Regions from separate parts of the Homo sapiens genome. Here regions 2, 3, 4, 5, 6 and 7 are each linked to region 1. Evidence: promoter capture Hi-C in 16 types of primary human blood cells and fetal thymus (Javierre and others, 2016). All regions are on one chromosome and are shown on one strand. The core of a region is centred on a gene start or on the middle of the fragment in contact, and the rest is flanking DNA. Distances in the headings are between cores, read along the strand shown.

Region 1 (3,455 bases), core at 683-3,182:
AAGTGGGTCAACCTAATGTGAGTGGAGTGAATGAGGTAGTAAGGGCTTAACAGATGTCTTGTGATTCTGGGACAGGAGGCAGCTTCAAGTTCCTTTTCTTCCTCACCCCCACCTTACACCCATCCTTGGAAGCTGGGATACTGCTGACTCTCATGGCAGCCATAACGCTATCAGCGCCTGGCTTTGCCGACAAGGGGAATCTGGAAGAGAAGGGGAAGGACAGGGGAGACAAAGAGAGGTAAAGAGTGTTGCATCAAGCACATGTGTCAGAAGTGTTCAAACCAGAGCGCCTCCATTTTGAGTGAGGGCTAGAAAAATGAGGCTGGGACTTGCTAGGCTGCATTTCCTGAAAGCTAGGCATTCCTAGCCTCTAGGTGTTTATGGTTAAGAGAACAAATTAATAATGCTTACTAAACAGACCCAGACTTGAGAGAGTCCAGATATCCCGATATCTGGAGAACAAAGGCATTCCTAATTTTGCTTTAAAAATAATAATATTGATTATTGCAAAATATAGTAATTAGGGAAAATTAATCCTTTATCACAAACCCTTGTAGCAGAAGACATCTGCCCATATATACAAGCATTACAAGCATTGTACCTTAGTTGGATATGTCCCTCCTCTTATTTTCAGGAATGCCCTGCTGGAGTGCAGTGGCGATCTCGGCTCACTGTAGCCTCTGCCTCCCGGGTTCAAGCGATTCTCCTGCCTCAGCCCCGTGAGTAGCTGAGACAACAGGCTTGCGCCACCACGCCCGGCCAATATTTGTATTTCTAGTAGAGACGGGGTTTTGCCATGTTGGCCAGCTGGTCTTGAACTCCTGACATCAGGTGATCTGTCCGTCTCAGCCTCCCAAAGTGCTGGGATTACGCGTGAGCCACTGTGCCCAGCCACCACTTTACTTTCTTAATAAACTTGCTTTTACTTTGCACTGTGGACTTACTCTGAATTGTTTCTTGCGTGAGATCGAAGAACCCTCTCTTGGGGTCTAGATCGGGACCCCTTTCCTGTAACACATGGGCCTTGGGCTGATCTCCAAGATTAAGAGGGCAAGATACTCAGCTGCAAGGGTCAGCTGTCGCTGACCCCAGCAGCTGCTCTGCCTTGGCCAACTTACCGGATTTAAATCGCCCAGTGACAGCTTTTCCTCCAGTATTTTCAAAATGCTCCCAATATCCTCACGTTAGAACAATCCAGAAATAGTCTTATGGTAAAACTCTTTTGGGAAATGTGAAAGTAGAGTCCTCCCACCTTTTCCTTTGCAACGCTTTTGCCCCAACCTCGATCGCCCAGGCAGCACATTTTTTCCGGCACCCCCACCAAGGGAAGAACAGAGACATCTCCAAACCAGCTGCCCTGCGCCAAGCTGTTACAAAATAGAGCCACAAGTCTCCCGGTTTATGCAAACATATTTGGCTCGGTGTCTAGGATCTTCTTTTTCAAACTCAGAAGGAGATCACAGGCACACGGCCGCGGTGCTGTGTACGCCCCTCTGAAAGGAAGTTCTGCAAGTCGACCGACTTCACTGGCTTCACTGAAGTCCGGTCCGAAACCACCGGAAAGTTGCAGGCGCACAGTATACGTTCAGCTGTGTCCAAGAAATAACCTATCAATCACTGCCTTAAGCTTTGTTTCCTTCCTGAATTTTCTTATTTTCACGAATATTTATGCTTTCACAAACTGTATGTCATTTCCTCTCCAGAACCAAGGGGGGCTCGCCCCAGCCTGGCCCCCGCCCCGGGTGCGTCCCTGCAGGGGGCGCCCTGCTCTGGCAATGCCCACCGCACCGCAGGGCTGACTGGCCGCGCGCCCGGGGGCGGGGGCCGCCGCGGAGGCATCGTGCTCTCCGATTGGCCGTCCGCGTCCTCGTGACGTCAGACCCCGCCCACGCGCCCCTCCTCCGCATCTGAGCGGGGGAGCGGCGGCCCCCAGCTGAATGGGCGCGAGAGCGGCGCTGGGGGCGGGTGGGGGCGCGGGGTACCGGGCTGGCGGCCGGCCGGCGCCCCCTCATTAGTATGCGGACGAAGGCGGCGGGCTGCGCGGAGCGGCGTCCCCTGCAGCCGCGGACCGAGGCAGCGGCGGCACCTGCCGGCCGAGGTACGTGGCGCAGCCCCCTCCTCGGCGTCGCGGGGGCCCGCGGGCTGGGGGCTGCGGCGGCGACTTGTCTCTTCCCGGGCCGGCTGGGCGCGGCGTTTCCGCCTCGAACCCCGCGGGCAGCGCCCAGGGCACGACACCCTCAGGCGAGCCCGGCTGGGGCGCGGGCGGAGGGTCGTGGTCCCGGGCCGTGTGGACCGGGCGGGGGGTCCCACGCAGGTGTGTACGCGGTAGAGGGTGGGGCGGACCGCCGGGTGTCGGGTCCCGCCGCAGTGGCCCTTTCCCCGCCGCTTTCCGCTGCAGCTCGGGATTTAATTCATTGCTGGAAGCTTCGGAGTTAGCAGAGCCGAGTTAACTCGTTTTCCTGGGATGGGCTTAGGGAACCCCCTGCAAGGTTACTAGCAGCTCCTGAAACCTCTCTCTGCATCCATCGGGGAGGCGTGATGTGGGGCCGCTGGTAGAAATTTGCCGGTGACCTTCCCTGCACCCTCTCTGCAGCCAGCCTTGCGGAGAAGACAGGTTTTGGCGACCTTTTGATTTCTTCTGAATTGTAAGCCGTGGCTTGACGCGGGTGTGCATTCATTGTACGCCTTGCGTGTGTAAGTAACGCAGGGTTTTCCGAGAGCATCCCCGAGGAGCCCTGCCCTTGCCTCACACCCGCTTGGTGACCTTGGCAGACACTGATCCCCCTGTGGGGCTCGGGCTCATGGTCTCTCCTGAGAAGCTTACCCTGCCGATGGCCGAGGTCCCTTCCAGGCCCCGGGTTTTTCTAATCATAAAAAAATACGTTTACGAGGGTAGAGGATCCTGCAGAATCTCTAGCTGACTCGGAAGACGAATTTTATATCCTCATGTCTTAAGTCATGCATGCGGCTTTTGCTTAATTAGGCATCGTTCATTTGAAGGGGAAAATGGTTTTATGTGCTGCGCTTCATCTGGCACCAGTGGTTGCCTGCTCCTCGTGGCAGGGCCGTGCTGGGTGTCACAGAGAGGAAGGAGACTCATCTCCTGCCCTCTGGTGTTTAGCTGCCCTCCCCCGGGCTTATGGCTGCTAATCCTTTTCCACGGAAGGATACAGCTGCTGAAACTGTGGAAGAGGAATCCATTTCTGCTGCATGAAGGGGCACAGACTTGAATACAGTCAGGACAGGTTGTGGTTTCACTTGTGTAATCCTGAGAGCTTGACAGCTTCGAGGAGTGTCTAACATTGCTAGTAACAGAGCCTAGAAGCACCTGAATTCCAGCTGTCACTTGGAGAAGGAGAGATTCATACGAACTGCGAGAGCATATAACCAGCATGTCTTGAGTCTTTTACCCATGTGCCTGTTATATGGATGCTGCTGTTTTTGTAAGATGAAAT
Region 2 (3,455 bases), core at 737-3,236, 250 kb before region 1:
AAGTTCAGTAACAGAATTCCCAACAGTATTTCTGGAGACAAAGATGAAGTCTAACATTTATTTTTACTTGTTTCCAGTGAGGTTAGAAAGTCTAAAGGGCCAAATGGATTATCAACATTCATTCAGTATGACTTCATGATGATCTATTCAATGTAGCCCCAATGTATGATGATCCGTCAACACAGATAAAAAACTGCTTGCCTCAGGATGCCCTGGATAGTAGGGAGTTGACGGTATGCTTGCCTAACAGAAGAGTGCCCAAATGTGGTGGCTAAGGCTGGTGAAGAAATTCCAAATGTGGCTACTTCCAGGCTGTACCCAAAGAGAGCTGGCTGATTTCAACTTACCTAGGAATCTTATTATGCTTCCTGAAAAGCCCCAACATTTTCCTGCTCAAGAAAGGAAAAAGATTATGAATACTATTAGAAAAACAAGGCAATCAGACACTATAGCTGTCTTCTCTCTGAAATCAGAGACTAAATGCCCTTTTCTTAACTATACTGTAAGCTCCCAAAGACACACATCTGTGGGCTCTACTAGCTCCCAGCCCTGTGTGTACATGAGAATCACCGCAGGTGCTTAAACTCCCCAAACGAATCTACACTGCAGTTTTCACAGGTAAATCTGATATGCTGCCAATGTCAAGATTTGCTGGTACAGGTTGAATATTCCTAATCCAAAAATGCTCCAAAATCTAAAACCCCATACACTTCTGGTCTTAAGCATTTTGGAAAAGGGATACTCCAACTGTATTTGTCCTCTTGTAGAGGATCACCACTGTCCTTCTAAGGAGGGAATCCATCCTGTGCACAGCTGGAAAAGAGGCATAGAACAGAACCTGCTGTTTCCCTCTCTTAAAGTACAGCAGGGGTTCAGTCTGTCTTAGAATTCTGTTATGAAGTGCAGGCTCAGATTGAGGCAACAGTCTCATGTAAGTGCTCCCCATCAGCCTGCCACATGCAGGACAAAGGAGAAACACATACATTCAGCTCCCATGACTCAGCTGAGGTCCGTACCCCTGCGCCAATCATCACAGCCTGGTTGTATCAAGTGTGTGCCAAACTGCCTGCGCTAACAACCAAATGCAAATGTCATACGTCTCTGTCACTAGCAGCATAGTTGCTAGAGAGACACGTGTGAGCCACACCTCAAAGACAAGCCTTCATCATCTTTTCCTGGAGATAGCTGACTAGCAATCAGATGTTCAAATAAAGCTACTTTCTTGTACAAGGAGCCATGCACAAGCACCCCCCACTAATGACTTTTAGAACACACATTTATATACAAAACAAAATACAGGAAAACCACCTGTCACTACCCCTACAAAAGATCCTTTTGCTCATTTTTGGAAACATGAATATGCATAAGGTTCCCATTCACAAACACTAAAAATTAGTATGTGAATGAAGTGCTGATAAAAACATAACCAGAACACAGTGGCACCAATCAAGGACGGGTTGTGGTCAAGGCCAAGTTTAGTTAATGTGCGTAAATGCCAGCTTCCAGAAGTCTAAGTACACAGCCCACATTTTAAGCTGGAGAGTGGGATGGGAGAAGCATCCAAAAATACTTCAATAACCCAAATGACCAAACCATTTTCAAAACTACGTTTCTTTGATCATATATTTCTTTGATCTTTAGTTCATTTAAGTGGAATAATGAGGTTAAGTGACTTACTTGTCCATAGACACAGAAAGTAGAAAGATAATTCTCAGCGTATGGTTTGAGAGAACTATGCCTTATCTCAACTACATCATGCATACTGTCTTCTTCCAAAAGTTTGCTTTTTAGTTGGTATTTGCAAGTTCCCGAATCAAATACGTGTTATGTGGCCAAATGAAAGAACCTCTACCAGCGTGGGCCAATGTTTTAGATTCAAATACAAAAGCTTCTAAAGTGTATACTTGTGGTACTGTACTCACCAGGCTTCCTGAGTTCTCCCAGCCCTTAAAAAGAGGATAGCTATACAGTTGAGAGAGGTGGCTGGCCAATCCTGAGCAGTCTGTCTGATGGGTTGGCTTTCATACGCAGATTTGATATCAGCAGCACAGTCAGCAAATGCCACCTGAAGCTGAGAAGCTTAGGAGTCAGCAGAACTGCCTAACTGATTTTATGAGAATTTCAGTTCAGGAGACTAACACAGGATCCTTAAAATCTGAGCAATGCATTTTACCATTTGAATATATTATGTGTATAGCACACAAGTAATTTAATAAAAAAAGGACCCTGTCCTAAGTATTTTGATTAGCCACAACTTTCAAATTCAGCTATGCATTTCCTTTGTAGATGGAGATTTTTAAAAAAGCAAGCTGAAGACAGAAGCTAATTTCATGTTGCTTGCTTTGGACTACAGGAAAGAGGGTAACTTTAAGAACAGATTTCTGCTAAGGGCAAGATATGTTTAGATGTATCATCACTCAAATATGGGTTTGGGTAGCAGAACTCTCCAAAATGGCAGATAAAACCAGGGAAGCTAGCCTTAAGAAGACCTCAGTATGGGAGGATATACTGGCTGGTGAGTTTCAGGCCTACCTCTGGTGGGTGCTTGTCCCTTGCCATGAGCATCAGGATCTCTTCTCTCAGGTCACTGCGGAAAGTATGACCATATTCTTTACTATCTTGAAACAAGAAAGGAACAAGGAGTGATCATTGTTATGTAAAACCAACACACTTTTGTTCACTGTCAACCTATTTTTTGGTAGGTAAAAATAAGTTGCTGTTATTTATTCTAGGCTTATCCCAGGATTCCAGAAACCCACCAGGATTCACAGTGGAACAAATGTAAAAGCCAATGCCTGGGCCTTGCTCCAGTGACGTGTTCATCACGGCATGTGCACTACATGGGAGCAGCCACCAGCTCCACGTGGTTAAGACGTTGTTTTATAGCACTTGGGAATTTGATATACTTTTATCACTCATTAGAGCAGTCGTGTGAAGCAGGAGGGCGGGACTAGAGCCTACTGACTTTATGATACAGTAGTCACCTAGTGAAAGATACAGAATATCTATTTCATTTTGCAGCCAAGTTATACACATAAGACACACACACCCGTGATGCGTGATGCTCATGGCTATTACTTGGAAACAGAATCATCACTGACTGTGGTTAGTGAAGTGAGGCAACACTGGCACAGAGGAATTACACAGGCTTCCGGGTCAAAGACCTTTATTCAGATTTAGGGTCTGCCACGCCATTAGCATTTATTTTCTTTGGGTCATATCCCGCAACAGGTGCACAAAACTCAGCTCATTCCTATGTCACGAAGGGACTGACTTAAGTCATTTTCAACAAAATTTTCTCCTGATAGCCAACATGCAACATGAGCACATGACCTTGAAGTACATCTCAACTAACACATTTGGTTCAGTCAAAATGGAAGTTTTCATCCCTAACAGTAATGTTAGCACATTCATTATCAAAGTAGAGGATATTGAGGTGAGATGCACCTGGACAC
Region 3 (3,455 bases), core at 663-3,162, 230 kb before region 1:
GGCTTTGACTTTTCTGAGCTCAATTCGTTCCTTCAGGGCGGCTTCACTTATGTCTTTGATCTGAGGTTCAAAGTACTCAGGCATTAAACACTAGGAAAACAAGATGACTAAAGTTACTACAAACAGGTAAAGGTGAGGGAAGGATAACTGAGTAGGACAAAACTTTTATCACCAACATACCAAAGTAAAACTTCACTGCTCCAATTCATGTTTCCTGCACCAGATACTACTGATCATTTTAACATCACTGTCTTCACAGGGAATTGAACTAAACCTTTCATCTCTAATGCTGTGTATCATCTAAACATTTAATACTACCCAAGGTATGCTGATTTTACCTCATTCACTAACTTATTCAAATACTTTCTGAATGCCTACTATTTTACCCCAGACATTAAGCTTGGCACTGGGGATACAGAGACGAAAGGCATTCTCTACCTTCAGGGTGCTCACAATCTAATGGAGAAAGACACTGTCTTAGTTTAGGATTTTAATATTTTGACTTACACAATCACACTGGCTTCCTCATCTATGTGCAAGTTCTACTATGAAAACAAGAAGTGTGTGTTTCCCTGTGAGCTTTGGGAAGCAGAGAGATGTAGGGATATGGGAGCAGTTTAGATATGATGAGTCTGAGATTAGTACTTCCACCAACAAACTCAGGAGGGCAGAGGCGCATCTGTTTTGCTCACCACTGTATGGACAAGCACTAAGCACAATACCCACCACACTGCATAAATCCTCACTCCAAAACTACAGAACAAAGAGGGAGCTGGAAATACAATGTGGAGTTCAAAGTAAAGGGATCTAGGCTAGATATACAAAAGAGTACCAAATGGATTATAAGCGTCACTGAAACAGAAGAGTATACACAATAAAAAGAGAAAATGAGCATAAAAATCTAAGAAAGATACCCATGCTTAAGAAGTGGATCAAGGCCGGACACGGTGGCTCACACCTGTAATCCCAGGACTTTGGGAGGCCAAGTCGGGTGGATCACGAGGTCAGGAGTTCAAGACCAGCCTGGCCAAGATGGTAAAACCCCGTCTCTACTAAAACTATAAAAATTAGCCAGGTGCGGTGGCAGGCACCTGTAATCCCAGCTGCTCAGGAGGCTGAGGCAGGAGAATTGCTTGAACCCGGGCGGCAGAGGCTGCAGTGAGCCAAGATCGTGCCACTGCACTCCAGCCTGGGCAACAGAGTGAGACTCCATCTCAAACAAAAACAAACAAAAAAAGAAGCGGATCAAGAGCAAGCAGCAGTGGCTTACACCTGCAATCCCAGAGATTGCAGAGGCTGAGAAGGGTGTTTGCTTGAGCCCAGAAATTTGAGACCAGCCTGGGCAGTGCAGTGAGACAAGACCCTGTTCTCTACAAAAACTAAAAATTAAAAAAAATCAGCCAGGCATGGTGGCACACCCCTGTAGTCCAAGCTACTTGTGAGGCTGAGGCAAGAGGATCACTTGAGCCCAGGGGTTCCAGGCTGCAATGAGCTATGATTGTACCATTGCACTCCAGCCTGGGTGACAGCATGATGCCGTTTCAAAAAAAAAAAAAAGGAAGAGAAAGATGTGTATAGAGAGGTAGTGAAGGAAACTTCAGTCATAGAATTAAAGACCTAAGAGCATGGTGTCACAAAAATCAAATGGGGAAAATATTAAGATGAAGAGCAAATAAATACAGAAAGAATTTTAAAGTTAGTCTTGTGATCAAAGCTAACTCCACACTTTAAAAGGCTTATCATCCAAATATTGAGGGTATTCAAATAGCTACTGAAATATTAGCCATGAAAGCCTGGTTTAATTTACATTTAAAATAGTATTATGTAAATAATGTAACTACCTCTCCTTACCGGTATATGAGGTTCAGCTATGTCCTTCTGAAAATATTTGGGGTATGAATTAATAATAAACTTGGCCACATTCTCCCCGGATTTCTTTGCCAGTAAAAATGAACGCTATATAAAGAAAAAGATTTAAATACATGTAATTTAAACTCAAGCAAGATTATAGTTACACTCTCAGCAAGAATTTCTCCCCCCTCACAAAAAAAAACAAATGCAACAACACGCAGAATCCCAATTAGAAATTATAGACTATCCCACCTTTTCTACTGTGATATAATTTCAGTTAGCATCTTATACACAGCTTGAAATATATAAAAAGCAAGCCATTTAAACTGAGTGGGTCACTCCAGTGTGAAAAAGCCCTAAGTATTAGAAACCAAAACCAAAAATCCTTTCCCCATTGACGATATGTACATCTTTTTGAAGAAAGTAGTAAAGGATTCACATAGTCTATCAATTTCTCAGCATTTGTAAACCTTTCCCAGGTTATTACAACTAAATTATTTATGTACTGTTGTACGCAAACCAGAGAGATAAAACACTAGAAAATTATATGAAAATACTCACAGATTCCAAAGATGATGCTGGCATAAGGTAAGGATCATCTTGAAACACATAAGGCACAGCTGTGGTATCCTGTGGAAAAGACATAATACAATTTCTATATTTATTTTGAAGACAGCTCACTGTAACTTTTAGCTCCTGGACTCAAGGGATTCTCCTGCCTCAGCCTCCCAAGTAGCCTAGGCTACAGGTGTGTGCCACCACAGCTGGCCATTTCACAAAATTTTTTGCAGAGAGGGTGTCTTGCTGTGTCACCCAAGCTGGTCTCAAACTCCTGGCCTCAAGCAGTTCTCTCACTTCTGCCTTACAAAGGGCTAGGATTATAGACGTGAGCCACTGTATCCAGCCCACAAGTCTTTCTAGCTAAATTTTTAAGAGGACCTTGTGAGTTTTGATAAACAAAAATTCCGTAAGTTGTAATTATGTATGTAACCTAAATGCGCAAACGTGTGTGGGCATATATACATGTATATATAGAGAAAAAAGACAAAAGACAAACACCTGCACTGTACTCTCAGCTCTACAAGACTTGCCTTTAATTATGCAAGGCAAGCAATGGCTTAAGCCTCCCTCCCCATGGCTGATTTTAATATTTAAGTTTGCTACCACTGGGGACTGTTTTAAACTCTAGGTAAGAATCATCTGAATTAACTAGTCCTAACAGCAGAATCCCAGAATAGGATTTCCTCCAAAGCAAGGTCACTATCCACCCACGCTCAACTTCACCAAGAGTCCCTCCTCCAAATGGAAGATATCACCGTGCCCTCTGAGGAATGAACAACAGAACCTTCTCCCACGTCCTGTTACCCATTAAAATTGCTCCCTAAACCTGAGCATAATCAACTCTCCAATACCACCAGGGGCCCCACTGAGAAATGCCCCAGAATTGCTTTCTTTATTCTCTTCTGTGTCTGAGTGCCTTACTTGGGCCTTTATTCCAAAGCAAAAACTTATCCTATATCCTTAATGCTGTTTTACTGACCTGGACTCCTCAGGGAGGGGGCACAGAAGCTTCCCTGCAGCTCTCAACGGAAAGCTGCTCATAC
Region 4 (3,455 bases), core at 668-3,167, 210 kb before region 1:
AGCAAGGTGACCATATAGACAAGAGCCACAGCAGCAGATCTGCCTCCCTGTCGCCTTGGCCCTTAGAGTGACACTGGCCATGCAACATAGAATCTTCTAGAGCTGAGCAGCTTAGTTCCTGATAGACTAACATTGTTTTACACTCAGAACATGTCACCACTCATGAAAACTTGACACTATTTTTGTGCTTTATTAAAGGGAGTGTTTACATCATTAGGGGACTCTCGTTTCAGCCTTCGGATTTCCTCTAGGCTGTCAGATTGGGATGGTTTCTTTGTCTTTATTTTCTAAATCAGAAAGGAGAAAATTGTAAAAGCAAAGTTAGCCTACTAAACATAGTTGTGTCCTATGGGAGCACCTTTCAAACCAAACATAAAATGTGATGAAACCTTTTTTAAGGTTTGACTAAATGTGTTTAATGTTGTCAAATTTACTATTTCTGCATACAGGGATTGTTGCATCACATTCCCTTCATTGAACTGGGTGGGCTTTGGAGTTAAGTCTATTCCATATCCTGCCTCCCCCACATTCTGTTTGTATTTGTGTCACCTGGATTCAATCACCTAACTTCCCTGAGCCTTGGTTTCGTCCTCTGAAAAGTACATGTAGTGATGAGTATTTCAGAGGATTAAGATCAGGACTAAATAATGCGGCCAGGCATGGTGGCTTACTCCTGTAATCCCAGCACTTTGGGAGGCTGAGGCAGGCGGATCTCTAGAGCTCAGGAGTTCAAGACCAGCCTGGGTAACATGGCTAAATCCTGTCTCTACAAAAAAATATTAATCGAAAAATTGTTTGGGCATATTGACACACATCTGTGGTCCCAGCTACTCGGGAGGCTGAGGTGGGAGGATCACTGGAGCCCAGGAGTTTGAGGCTGCAGTGAGTCGAGGTTGCACCACTACACTCTAGCCTGGGCAACAGGAGTGAGACCTTGTTAAAAAAAAAAAAAAAAAGACAGAATAATGCTGCCTGTGAAGCAGTCAGTGTATAGTAGATGCTTAACTCCTTTTTATGAACAGTTTACCAGTGTACTTAGTGCAAGTTTTGTTCTAAATCTGTTTTTAAGAAGTTACCACTCATTCATTTAGCACATATGTATTTTATGACTTATTCATTTAGCACATATGTATTTATTAACTATTGGGTACCAACTCTGCACTTAGTGTTGGGGTACACTAGTGAGAAAGACAGATTGTGCCCTCCAGAGCTATCAAGCAGGCATTAAATAATCACTTAACTATAGGTTTGTGCTGGAAAGGAAACATCAGAGAGGTTGGTAACTTTAGCTTTCCTCTTGGTCTTTTTTATCCCCTTAGGAAATTAAGTGTTAAATCCATTACGAACCCTCGATACCTGGACAGCCTGGGGAACCCATCGGCAAACGGCCTGTACGATTTAGCTTTGGGCCCTGCAGATTCCAAAGAGGTGTGCTCCACCTGCGTGCAGGACTTCAGCAACTGTTCTGGGCACCTGGGCCACATTGAGCTCCCACTCACAGTGTATAACCCTCTCCTCTTCGATGTAAGTGCTGCCTTAGTTGTGTGGGTCTCCGGGCTGCTGGTGGGATTTGTGAGTGCTGCCTCTCTCCCACAAGAGTGGTCTAAGGAGGTTAAGCCCCAGGCACTCCAATGAAAGCATTCTGTAGAATGAGATTTTGAAGTTTTGAGCCAAATACAATAACTTCAACTTACCCTGTGGCCCTAAATAAATGAATATCAGTTTGATTCCAGTTGAATAGAGCCACAGCCTGATTCCGTTTGCGTGGAGGGTCGGGGAGAGTTCAGATTCATTCCCTACACCTTTTGTTGCAGGGGCTTTGTGCTCTTCAGAAATCTCAGTGGCACCTGCCTGGTAATAGAGAGAACTTCAGTGTTCTCAGGGTCTCCCTGAGCCCTTCAGGTGTCTCTATAGGCACTTGTGTGGTGGCAGGAGAAGCAAAGCCCCAGAAAGCCCAACAGTGAGGTCAGAATGAAGCTCCTGTTTAGAGTCATGCTGGTACATTTTCAGCTTTTTATTTCAGCTAACCTCACCTCCAGGATTTTTTTTTTTAAGCTACACATATGTTGGTATACATGGACATGATTTTTGTCTGTTAATCGTGTTAAAGAGAAGTGTCTTTTTTTTTTTTTTTTAAGACAGTGTCTCATTCCGTCTCCCAGGCTGGAGTGCAGTGGCACGATCTTGGCTCACTGTAACCTCTGCCTCCTGGATTCAAGTGATTCTTGTGCCTCAGCCTCCCTAGTAGCTGGGATTACAGGCACGCACCACCATGCCCAGCTAATTTTTGTATTTTTACAAAAATTACGGGAGACAGGTTCATCATGTTGGCCAGGCTGGTCTCAAACTCCTGGCCTCAAGTAACTGGCCTCAAGTGATCTGCCCACCTTGGCCTCCCAAAATGCTGGGATTACGGGCATGAGCCACCGCACCTGGCTGAGAAGTCTCTTAATTAAATCTTGGAATAAAATAAAGATATTTTTCTACCTCAGGTTGTACGCCCAAAGTAAATTTCAAATCTAAATGGATTAAAATAAAACCTTAAAAGAAAATAGAGGGTAATATTTATCTGGTTCTTAAGATAACAAAGGCCTTTCTAAGCATGTAGGCTGAAGTAGAGTTTTTAAAGGAATAGACTGACTACATAAAGAAACTTGTGAGTATACCGAAAATCACCATGGCTACTGTGTCTCTTTCTAATATCCTGTTTGTTTTTATTCCCTCTCTTCAGAAGCTGTACCTGCTGCTTCGGGGCTCTTGTTTAAACTGCCACATGCTGACTTGTCCCCGGGCCGTGATTCACCTCTTACTCTGCCAGCTGAGGGTTCTGGAAGTCGGGGCCCTACAAGCAGTCTACGAGCTTGAGAGAATTCTGAACAGGGTAGGTGGGTAGTGGTGGTCACAGAAATCAGAAAAGGCAAAGTGGTGTGGGGAACAAGAGATGCTTGTATGTTGTCCTAGTTACCATGCCGATAGTCATCAGAACGTTTGATCTTTATATCTTATAACTGGATACCAATAGCTGAGTGTGAAAACAGGAAGCTATAAGAATAATAAAAGAAATGTTCATAGAAACAATAGTGAAATACCATTTAATCCATTTATGAGCTTTTGCTGATTTTCTGGACCAAGGATTCAATCAAGGTTTATTCAATCAAAAGACATTGCTTTTGATTGTTACATCTCTTTGATCTGTCTTAAAGTAGAACATTGTAATGTAGAAAATTCTTTTTCATGATACCAACTTTTTTGGAGACTCAAAGCCAGTTGTCTTATAGGATTTCTTACATTTTAGATTGTCCGATTATTTCTTGTAATTAGATTCACATTTTGGCAAGAATACAACCTACATGATACAGGGTACTTTGTATTGCATCATTTTAGGAGGCATATGTCAGGTTGTTCACCTATTGGTAATGCTTACTTTGTTTACTTCTTGTATTTGGTTTTTTTGG
Region 5 (3,455 bases), core at 317-2,816, 190 kb before region 1:
CACTCCAGCCTGGTCGACAGAGCAAGTCTCTGTCTCAGAAAAAAAGAAAATACTGGACATGACTTAAATACCTATTAACAGAGACTACTTAAATTATGGTGCATTTGTTAATTGTTCTCCAAGTTAGGGATTTCTCTAAAAACTTATGATGACATATCCTCTGCAGATTTTAAAGAAACTAGCTGGAGAATTGGAGGTGGAATGAAGCTAGTTTTTAAAAATGGAGGAGGCTGAGGTAGGAGAATCGCATGAACCTGGGAGGCGGAGGTTGCAGTGAGCTGAGATCGTGCCGCTGCACTCCAGCCTGGGTGACGAGCAAGACTCCGTCTTGAAAAAAAAAAAAAAAAAAAGGAAAAGGCAAGAGTGGTGTTTTTAAGTGTAGACTATCTTAGGCTATTTTATATTTGAGCCGTATACTCTTAACTTAGAATTTGCTGTGAGCTAGACACCCTGTCAAGTGTTAGGAACACAGACAAGGCATAGTGCCTGTCCTGATATGTGAATAAAAAAGGAACATTGAGTAATGCTTAGTTTCAGTGGATGTATCCAGAAAAGCTTTTTGGGGTTTTTGTTTTGTTTTGTTTTGTGTTTTTTTTTTTGAGACAGGGTCTCACTTTGTCATCCAGGCTGGAGTGCAGCGATACGATCTCGGCTCCCTACAGCCTCTGCCTCTCAGGTTCAAGCGATTCTCCTGTCTCAGCCTCCCTAGTAGCTGGGATTACAGTCATGTCCAGTATTTTCTTTTTTTCTGAGACGGAGTCTCGCTCTGTTGCCCAGGCTGGAGTGCAGTGGCACAATCTCCGCTCACTGCAAGCTCCGCCTCCTGGGTTCACGCCATTCTCCTGCCTCAGCCTCCCGAGTAGGTGGGACTACAGGCGTCCACCACCATGCCCGGCTAATTTTTGTATTTTTCATAGGGACACGGTTTCCCTGTGTTGGCCAGGCTGGTCTCAAACTCCTCAGGTGATCTGCCTGCCTTGGCCTCCCAAAGTGCCCAGAAAGTTTTGAACCTGAAAGACACACTACTTACTTGTCTTAGGTAATCATCTTAAATGCCTGGTCCCTACCTCCTGAATGGCAGTCCCAAGCCTCGTTTTCTCATGTAACCTGGGTATTGCTGGTAGATGGCATCCCAGAGTGATCTTGCTTAGTGTGAGAAACCAAGCCCAATCTATTCCTCACACACCAGTATGATATTTGTAAAAAGAAGTCAGTATATATTTACCTATAAAAATACTTATTTATCCATAATTCAACTTATATGAACTTTTCTGGTAAAAAACAGGTAGATAAAGATATTTATTATAATGTTACTTATAATAGCAAAATATGGAAATCAATCCAGATGTCCAATTATGAGAATATGGTTAAGTGAATTAGGAATCATCCTTAATGGAATATCACATAGCCATGAAAAATGGTGATCAGGCAAAAGCTACATAGCAACATGCAGACATGCTGATGAGATGATACTAAAAGGGCAAAGTAGTGTGCAAAATAAATCCACACTGAAGATTACAGTTGTGTAAAATACGTGTATAGACAAAAAGGCCTGGAAAACAATATATAAAAGTGATAGGAGTTGTTAATGTGATGGGATTATGGGTAATGTTTTCTTTTACTTTGCTTTTTTTTTTTTTTAGGTTTTATACAATAGCCATATGGTTTTTATTACTATAGAAATGAGATTAAGGGCCAGAGGGAATCCAGGCCTGATAATATGCTACCCTTGAGATTGATTTTTGTGGTCAAGTTGCAGGCTTGGGGATAAAGAATTGATAAATCCCATTGCAGAAAGAGTACCTGTTTCTGATTTATTGCACTTTGATTCTCCTCCTTGGCTCCAGGAATTGAGGAAGCTCAGATAGGAAAACGAGGATACTTAACACCCACCAGTGCCCGCGAACACCTTTCTGCCCTGTGGAAGAATGAAGGTGCTGTATCAGGCTAAAGAAATAGCCTTGATCTTCTCTAGGCTTTTATTTCCTGGACTCATTAACCCTGCCTTATTACTTCTTTTAAGTTGTAGTGATTGTAGCTTCCTCCTGGAACTGATCCAGAGGTTTGGGGCAGTCTTCAGGGCACATTGACATTGAGTCATAGAGCAGGAGAGGTCATACCCAGCACCAAAAACTTGACAATTATCGCAGCTGAGCCTGGTTATGAAATGACAACTGCAGGTGGGCCTCACTTAATACAGGTTGGCATATTTTTAGAAGGTTCAGTGTAACTTATTTTAAATGCCCGTAAGTAAAATGCTTTGTCCTTCTGTGAATCAAAGAATGAACTCTGTCTTATTTAAATTGGGACTTTACTATAAGGGAAATCCTTCTTTCCTTTTGAGTGTATAACAAAACCTACGCAGTATATTCAAGCCCTTGTGAGAGTATGTTGTGGAACGCTGACTATAACCTCTGTGTAATAAGCGCTTACAAATGAACATGTTGTTAAAGAGGTATCAGAAAAAAAAAAAAGCACTGGAGTTAGTATGATTGCTTCTGTGGCAGGCCCTAGTACATTTTAATCTTTTTCTCTAGGCATTTTTTAAAGTAACCAGAAACCTGAAATAAAGCTTTGATCCACAGAAGATCCTTTCTTGGCAGTAACTGTTAGGGGTGGGAGGAGGCTAACTTAAAAAAAAATTTTTTTATTCAACATATTTTTTATGAAGATCAAAGTAATGATGTGTGTGCTGTCTGTGTTTTAATAGTCCAGGAGGGTGATTAAAAACAAGTGAAGTTTCTTCCCCATCCTTGCCCATCTCAGTCCCTGGTTTAAGAGCTATTGTCCCTGTAGTACCCATTTTTATGCTATCATATCCCCTGCATACAAACTGTCATGTACACAGGGGCTATTTTTTGTTTTTATAAAGAAAAATGAGGCCAGGCACGTTGGCTCATGCCTCCAATCACAGCAATATGGGAGGCTGAGGCAGGTGGATCAATTGAGCCCAGGAGTTCGAGACCAGCCTGGGCAACCAAGCAAAACCTCATCTCTTAAAAAAAAAAATACAAAAATTAGCTGGACATGATAGCACGCACCTGTAGTCCCAACTACTTGGAAGGCTGAGGTGGCAGGATTGCCTAAGCCTGGGAGATCAAGGCTGCAGTGAGTCATGATCGCACCACTGCACAGCAGCCTGGGCGACAGGAGTGAGACCTTTTCTCAAAAAAGAAAACTGTGACCTTAACTCTACATATTATCTTGTATTCTGTTTTTTCCTCACTCAGTAATATTTTTATGGTTGTCCTCCCATGCCCTTAGTGATAGATTTAAATGGTCTTCTTGGTTTATTTCTTTCCAACGCAGGATTCTTTCTGAACTACCTTTTTTCGGGAATGGATGATGATGGTATGGAATCCAGATTCAATCCCAGTGTGTTCTTTCTAGATTTCTTGGTGGTGCCGCCCTCAAGGTAATACCCTTTAATTAACTTATTTCACCTGAAAAAAAGC
Region 6 (3,455 bases), core at 367-2,866, 170 kb before region 1:
GACAAGACAGGGATATAAGAAGGGCTCTTGATAGAAAGTGGCTTCCAGGCAGGCGATTAGGGATTAGAGTTTGACTTAAGATTTATTTTCATTCTTCTTGTGTTGTCTGTTTTGGCTTATAGGATGGCCAACCATTGGCGGGACTGATCCAGGATCACATGGTTTCAGGGGCAAGCATGACTACTCGGGGTTGCTTTTTCACCCGGGAGCACTATATGGAGCTGGTGTACCGAGGACTCACGGACAAAGTGGGGCGCGTGAAGCTCCTTTCTCCTTCCATCCTGAAGCCCTTTCCGCTGTGGACAGGAAAACAGGTAATTGGGAGAGAACAGCCAGTGTATGTAACAAAAGGAAATAGGCCACTCATGTAAAAGGTTTTATTCTCAGAAGAGTCCAGACCAGAGACAGAGAAATGGCTAAGCCAGCAATAGTCTGACTTTCTTTCCCCTTTGTTTGGGGTTCCTGAGTCTGGGTGGCTTCAAGGGAGTGTCTAGCAAGAGTAGACTGCATAGTAGCCTGGTGCAGTGGCTCACACCTGTAATCCCAACACTTTAGGAGACTGAGGCGGGCAGATCACCTGAGGTCTGGAGTTTGAGACCAGCCTGGCTAACATGGTGAAACCCTATCTCTACTAAAAGTACAAAATTAGCTGGGCGTGGGATTAGTGCCTGTAATCTCAGCTACCGGGAGGCTGAGGCAAGAGAATCGCCTCAGCCTGAGGCAAGAGAATCGCTTGAACCCAGGAGGTGGAGGTTGTAGTGAGTCAGGATCAGCCACTGCACTCCTGCCTGGGCAACAGAGTGAGACTCCGTCTCCACAAAAAAAAAAAAAGTAGACTGCATAGTTTCTGTCCTTTGCTTCTAACTTAAATTTGGTGTCCTCATAATACAAATATGGTGGTAATAGGCAGTGGTGCTGGTGGAGTAATAGTAATATTTGTTGGGAAGTTCCATATGTTTGCTGAGTGCTTTAGACACATTATCTGATTTAATACTCACGACTAATCTGCAATGCAGACACCATTATTATCTCCATTTAGGAGATGATAAATTACATGCCCAAGACTACAGGAGACAGATCAAACCCAGGACTTTTCAACCCCAGAAGCATCATACCATACTTCCTCTCAAAGTAACCAAATTACATGATATGTGGCGACCAAATAATGAAAAACAGTAAAATATGTTCTTCTGCTGTTGCCTGAGTATCCAAGTTCAGCCTTAAGGATCAACTTCTAATTGGCTATGTGATCTTAGCCCTGTGTGTCTCAGTTCCTCATCATTTCCTGGGACAGTAGAAATTAACTTGCTAAGCTAAGTTCTGATTCTAAACATGGTTTTTCTCTTTGAAACCAGACTAACCCACAAACAAATTCTTGCATAGTGTAGTCACTCTTGCCCTTTTCACCTGTTGGCAAAAAAAAAGCCCGTACCAACCTTTAGAGACACACTAAAAAATCTCACCCGTGACAGAAGCAAAACCTGGACCTATTTCCTAATTTTATTTGGTACAGAGGATTTTAAAAGGATTCAAGATGTGGCCTCTGGGCATAATGGAATTTGGAAATCAGCAACCAAGATATTTGGAAAAGCCCTCAATATTTGTACTTCTAAATAACGTACTTCTTAAATAGCTCATGGGTCAAAAGAATCTAAAGGGAAATTAGAAAGCATTCTGAAGTAGATGAAATGAAAACACAACAAAATTTGTGGGATGCCACTGAAGCAGAACTTAAGGGGGAAATTTATACATAAAATGCCTAGGTTGAAAAGAAGAAAAAGGGTCCCAAATCAATGACTTCAGCTTCAAGTTCATGATCTCTAAGGTCTCTTCCTGCTCTCCAGTTCTTAGTCTGTGGACCTGGAACTTGATTTTCCTTTTTAAGCCAACCTTGCATTCCTGGATAAACCTTCCTTGGTCGTGAGGTATTATCCTTTTTATATATTATTGAATTCAATTTGCTAATATTTTGTCTAGAATTTTTTTACTTCTGTGTTTGTGATAGATATTGGTCTGTAGTTTTATTTTCTTATAATATGTTTGTTTGGTTTTGGTATCAGGGTAATCCTGGCCTCACAGAATGAGGTGTTAGGAGGTATTTCCTCTGGTTTTCTGTAAGAGTTTGTGTAGTACAGTATTCATATTATTTATTCCTTAAATGTGTTGTAGAATTCACCAGTGAAGGCATCTGGGCCTAGAGTTTCTTTGTGGCAAGGTTTTCTTTCTTTTTTTTTTTTTTTTTTTTTTTTTTTGAGATGGAGTTTTGCTCTTGCTGCCCAGGCTGGAATGCAATGGTGTGATCCTGGCTCACCGCAACCTCCACCTCCCAGATTCAAGCAATTCTCCTGCCTCAGCCTCCCAAGTAGCTGGGATTACAAGCATGCGCCACCATGCCCGGCTAATTTTGTATTTTTAGTAGAGATGGGGTTTCTCCATGTTGGTCAGGCTGGGCTCGAACTCCCAACCTCAGGTGATCCACCAACCTTGGCCTCCCAAAGTGCTGGGACTACAGGCCTGAGCCACCGCGCCCAACCTGTGGGAAGATTTTCAATTAAAATTTCTATTTCTTTAGTAGACATAGAGCTATTTTTGGTTATCTACTTCTTGAATGAGCTTTAATTGTTTGTGTTTTTCAGGGAATTTGTCCATTTCATCTAAGTTACTGAATTTATAGGCACAAAGTTGTTCATAATGCTCCTTTGTTGACCTTTTCTATCTGTATTGCCTGTAGTGGTGTCACTTCTCTCATTCCTGACATTGATAATTTGTGTCTTCTCTTTTTTCCTGATCAGTTTGCCTAGAGGTTTATCAGTTTTATTCTCAAAAAAAAGTCTTTGGTTTTATTGACTTTATTTTTCTGTTTTCTGTTTCGTTGATTTGAACTTTATCACTCCCTTTCTTCTGTTTACTTTGGTTTAATTTGCTCTTTTTTTTTTCCTAGTTCTTTAAGTTCTTTAAGTCAATTTGAGACCCCTTTTCTTCTTTCAATGTAGGCATTTTATGTATAAATTTCCCCCTTAAGTTCTGCTTAAGTAGCATCCCACAAATTAATATGTTGTGTTTTCATTTCATCTACTTCAGAATACTTTCTAATTTCCCTTTTGATTTTTTTTTTCAATCCATGAGTTATTTAGAAGTATGTTGTTCAGTTATTTAGAAGTACAAATATTGAGGGCTTTTCCAAATATCTCGATTGTTGATTTCCGGTTTAATTTCATTGTGCCTAGAGACTGCACCTTGGATCCTTTTCAAATCCTTTGTACCAAATAAAATTGGGAAATAGGCCCAGGTTTTGCTTCTGTCATGGGTGAAGTTTTTCATTGTATCTCTAAAGGTTGGTACAGGCTTTTTTATTTTGCAAATAGGTGAAAAGGGCAAGAGTGACTACACTACACAAGAATTTGTTCATGGTTCAGCCTGGTGCTACAGAGAAAAACCATGTTTAGAATCAGAAG
Region 7 (3,455 bases), core at 433-2,932, 150 kb before region 1:
AACAGTCGGTGAGTGGCAGAGCCAGCATTTGAACATGGGCCCGTCAGACACAAACTCATGATTTTCATTGTATACCTTAATGCCCTTGTAGTGACCATCACTGTTGACTGGGCAGTCACCCCATTTGCAGATAGGGAAACTGAAACCGATGTGACCTGTCTAAGGTCATCAAGCTGATGGTAGAATTGAGGGTTGTGCTCTGGTGCTGAGTCCTTTCCATCCTGGTTCCTATCCCTGAGCTTGGCCATCACTCTTCCCCTCTTCCTTTCTTCCCAGAAACTCCCTTGTGCTCCTGGAGGGGCTCTGAGTGTGCTGCTTTCTTTCCTGTGTCTCCCTCTGCTCCCAAGACCATTGGTTCCCAAATCTGGTTTGCACAAAGTGAGGGCCCTGATTAACAATGGATGCTCAGCCTCTCTGAGAGTGGTGCTCGGCCCCATCATGAGGGCTCCACACCAGCCACCTGGGTCCCCTGAATTTGTGCTCCATGGCCCTCTTGTCACGCCCTCATCTCTTTGATCTCATGTGTGTGATTTGTTTGTTTGTTTTTTTGTTTGTTTGTTTAGGTGATAATGAAATCACAGCATCTCCATGAAGTTTTATCCAGAGCAGATCCCAAAAAAGCTCTCCACCACTTCAGAGCTATCAAAAAATGGCAAAGCAAGCACCCCAACACCCTGCTGAGAAGAGGCGCCTTCTTGAGTTATTCCCAGAAAATTCAGGAAGCTGTGAAAGCCCTGAAACTTGAGAGTGAAAACCGCAATGGCCGCAGCCCTGGGACTCAGGAGGTGATGCAGGGAGGTGGTGTCCTTAATGTCCAGCACGTCCAGGCTTAGTCAGTGGGTGAGGGATGAGGGGCTGTTTTCCTAAGAGAAGGTAGAATCATGAACTCCAGCTTTGTTCACCGTCAGTCAGAACAGAATGGCTCTCAAATGGGAATGTAAGGTGGGGACTCTTAACAAGGGTGTAGGCAGGGTTTGGGGGGACTAACTGGGGCCTGTGACTTCGGGGTTCCCCGCGATCCCAGGTGTGAAGGAATGGGGAGCAGTCATGAGAAACGGAGAGGACGACTATGTGCTAGGGCCACTGGACAGAGCCCTGGGTAGAGACCCACTAGAGGGGGGTTGAGGATAAATACCAGGATCCCCTTCCTCCTGCCTTTCCCTCTGCTGCTGGTGCCTCCCATCAGCCAAGCACACCTGGGAGCTGGAAGCAGGGGATCTCTTTGAAGCAGTCACTTTGGGACAGCCTTGAGGGCACAGAGCGTGTGAAAGAGCCTGGATCCAGAAATAACCATGGATCCAGCACAGTGACTGCATCCTAGCTGGCCTGAGACAGTCGTGGCTTTGCCTCTTGTCCTAGCCTAATCATAACAGTCTCCTGTTTCACTCTAAAAGAAGCCCAGTTTGCTCAGTAAATTACATGCTTGCCCTCCCTGGGCTTGAATGGGCCAGGATGAAGAGCTGCTAGGCTTATAGTCAAGCAGGGTGCCCTAGGACAGGTTGAAGTCTCTCCCCATTTTAAATGGGGAGATGGTTTCTCATTGCAATCAGGTTTCTTTCTGTCTCCCTTTATTCTCATTGGAAGCCAATGCTTTTGATCCCTCTTATGCTACTGGGTATCCCTCCCACATAGCTGAGACCCATCCTTCTGTTCAGATGCTGAGGATGTGGTATGAGTTGGATGAGGAAAGCCGAAGGAAATACCAGAAGAAGGCGGCCGCTTGTCCTGACCCCAGTCTGTCTGTCTGGCGTCCTGACATCTACTTTGCATCAGTGTCAGAAACATTTGAAACAAAGGTTGATGACTACAGTCAAGAGTGGGCAGCTCAAACAGAGAAGAGTTATGAGAAATCAGAGCTTTCTCTCGACAGGTATTGACAGTGATTTGTTGCACAACATGTGCAGGAGAATCTGCCTCCTAGCCCCTGCCTCCTAGCCCCTGCCCTACTCACTCCGGAAGAGGGCTGCCTCCTGGGTTTGAGACTTCAGCTAGAGGGAGGGCAGTAAGACAGCCAGGGGCAACGCACAAGCCCCAAGGGCCCAGGAGTGAACAAGTGCAAGGGAGGCAGGAGTGGACACCCCCATCTGGGCCAAGATAGGGATAGTGGTCTGCTGGGAGGCTTGCAGGAAAGTCTGCTCTCTTGGGTTTGGTGTGGTGGGTGGGGCTGACTGAGAGTCAGGGAATCTGGTCACTGTTCACCTGCTGCCAACCGTGTGACCCAGGGCAGGTCATTCATGCCCAGGGACACCAGGTCTTAACTTCTCATGAGGCCTTGGATCCGATTACTCCAGTAATCCTTTGAGCTTTGGGTTCCCATTTGAAGGCCTCAGCTTGGACTAGGACAGACACACACACACACACACACACAGACACTGTAGCTCAGCGCGCGCGCGCACACACACACACACCTTTGAGCTTTGGGTTCCCATTTGAAGGCCTCAGCTTGGACTAGGACAGACACACACACACACACACAGACACTGTAGATCAGCACACACACACACACACACACAGACACTGTAGCTCAGCACACACACACACACACACAGACACTGTAGCTCAGCGCGCACACACACACACACACACACACACACACACACACACACACAGTGTAGCTCAGCGCTCCTAGTGGCTGTTCTTAACAGGGTCAGGCTTCATAGGAAAAATGGTTAGTAAATTACAGAATCGTGCGGCATGAATACTTCTGATGTGGTCTGCAGCCATTTGCACTAACTAAAAATATAAACACTCTCATCACCCCCATCCCCATAATGGCCTAGTGAACCTCTTTCTAATTTTTATAGCAGGAGGTTTAAACTGTCTCCAAATTGTCATAATTGAGAAGAAAGAATGGATAAAGGAAAAAGTGAATAATGAACCCAGAAATTCTCCTGCTTAGGGGGCTTGTGGTAACAGTCCCAGAGTGGATATGTGACATTCTGGGGGCAAACATGAGGAGTCCAAGCATGAATGTCTAGAGCTTCAGCCACCCAGCTGGGATCTGTGCTGTGTAATTTGAGGACATCTCAGGGTCACTGGTGGGAATTTGAAGATTAGAGGGATCTTTTGCCTAGGAAAAACGAGTCCAGAAAGAGGTAGAGGTTTCAGTTTTCTGGTTTCGGGCAGCATTGACAGTCTGTGGTGTCTGCTCCTGACCCCTGCCACAACCCCCACCCTGACCCCCCACCACCGTCTCTAGGTTGAGGACCTTGCTGCAGCTGAAGTGGCAGCGCTCACTGTGTGAGCCGGGCGAGGCTGTGGGCCTGCTGGCTGCCCAGAGCATCGGAGAGCCCTCCACCCAGATGACCCTCAACACCTTCCACTTTGCAGGCAGAGGCGAGATGAACGTCACCCTGGGCATTCCAAGGTGTGGGGCACAAGGGAGCACAGGGTGGGGTCTGTCCTAGCCTCTCCTGGAGAAGGGGCCATTTAATGAGAGGGGGTGAGTGAGTGTG

What was found. Contacts are between HindIII fragments. The CHiCAGO score rates a contact against its expected background, and 5 or more counts as called.
Region 2: a fragment that was not itself captured here is called in contact with the fragment with the promoter of ST3GAL5 in region 1 in 1 of 17 cell types (M0 macrophages); the score reaches 6.0 in M0 macrophages.
Region 3: a fragment that was not itself captured here is called in contact with the fragment with the promoter of ST3GAL5 in region 1 in 2 of 17 cell types (M0 macrophages and total B cells); the score reaches 6.0 in M0 macrophages.
Region 4: a fragment that was not itself captured here is called in contact with the fragment with the promoter of ST3GAL5 in region 1 in 2 of 17 cell types (total B cells and monocytes); the score reaches 5.8 in total B cells.
Region 5: a contact is called between a fragment that was not itself captured here and the fragment with the promoter of ST3GAL5 in region 1, in 16 of 17 cell types (M0 macrophages, naive CD4 T cells, total B cells and 13 more). The highest score is 16.1, in M0 macrophages.
Region 6: a contact is called between a fragment that was not itself captured here and the fragment with the promoter of ST3GAL5 in region 1, in 15 of 17 cell types (M0 macrophages, megakaryocytes, fetal thymus and 12 more). The highest score is 22.3, in M0 macrophages.
Region 7: a fragment that was not itself captured here is called in contact with the fragment with the promoter of ST3GAL5 in region 1 in 16 of 17 cell types (fetal thymus, naive CD4 T cells, M0 macrophages and 13 more); the score reaches 25.6 in fetal thymus.

What each region holds. Positions count from the first base shown.
Region 1 is chr2:85,887,467-85,890,921 of GRCh38, reverse strand. ST3GAL5 (ST3 beta-galactoside alpha-2,3-sialyltransferase 5) reads left to right here and starts at 1,932. Exons shown (of 7, transcript NM_003896.4): 1 at 1,932-2,098. The coding sequence starts at 2,017. It overlaps ST3GAL5-AS1 (ST3GAL5 antisense RNA 1), which reads right to left and starts at 1,642. Exons shown (of 3, transcript NR_110569.1): 1 at 1,119-1,642. RefSeq lists silencers at 1,531-2,150, 2,191-2,310 and enhancers at 2,481-2,560, 2,252-2,752, 3,091-3,220, 3,231-3,350. The HindIII fragment of the contact is 797 bases long and covers 1,630-2,426 here.
Region 2 is chr2:86,133,455-86,136,909 of GRCh38, reverse strand. It overlaps PTCD3 (pentatricopeptide repeat domain 3), which reads right to left. Exons shown (of 24, transcript NM_017952.6): 20 at 2,533-2,618; 21 at 1,923-2,071; 22 at 348-389. SNORD94 (small nucleolar RNA, C/D box 94) reads right to left here and starts at 1,040; the gene lies at 904-1,040. The HindIII fragment of the contact is 191 bases long and covers 1,891-2,081 here.
Region 3 is chr2:86,115,556-86,119,010 of GRCh38, reverse strand. It overlaps PTCD3 (pentatricopeptide repeat domain 3), which reads right to left. Exons shown (of 24, transcript NM_017952.6): 5 at 2,413-2,481; 6 at 1,852-1,956; 7 at 1-90. Among named protein-coding and RNA genes, the nearest start is that of PTCD3, 11 kb to the right of the region's middle. The HindIII fragment of the contact is 3,021 bases long and covers 402-3,422 here.
Region 4 is chr2:86,098,037-86,101,491 of GRCh38, reverse strand. It overlaps POLR1A (RNA polymerase I subunit A), which reads left to right. Exons shown (of 34, transcript NM_015425.6): 2 at 1,320-1,524; 3 at 2,732-2,881. LOC124907852 (a long non-coding RNA gene) reads right to left here and starts at 1,769. Exons shown (of 2, transcript XR_007087121.1): 1 at 1,695-1,769; 2 at 171-287. The HindIII fragment of the contact is 5,382 bases long and covers 1-3,455 here.
Region 5 is chr2:86,081,561-86,085,015 of GRCh38, reverse strand. POLR1A (RNA polymerase I subunit A) reads left to right here. Exons shown (of 34, transcript NM_015425.6): 7 at 1,848-1,934; 8 at 3,310-3,415. Among named protein-coding and RNA genes, the nearest start is that of POLR1A, 23 kb to the left of the region's middle. The HindIII fragment of the contact is 2,017 bases long and covers 558-2,574 here.
Region 6 is chr2:86,062,133-86,065,587 of GRCh38, reverse strand. It overlaps POLR1A (RNA polymerase I subunit A), which reads left to right. Exons shown (of 34, transcript NM_015425.6): 14 at 123-314. Among named protein-coding and RNA genes, the nearest start is that of POLR1A, 42 kb to the left of the region's middle. The HindIII fragment of the contact is 7,905 bases long and covers 1-3,455 here.
Region 7 is chr2:86,040,304-86,043,758 of GRCh38, reverse strand. It overlaps POLR1A (RNA polymerase I subunit A), which reads left to right. Exons shown (of 34, transcript NM_015425.6): 23 at 564-785; 24 at 1,656-1,870; 25 at 3,200-3,367. Among named protein-coding and RNA genes, the nearest start is that of POLR1A, 64 kb to the left of the region's middle. The HindIII fragment of the contact is 5,837 bases long and covers 1-3,455 here.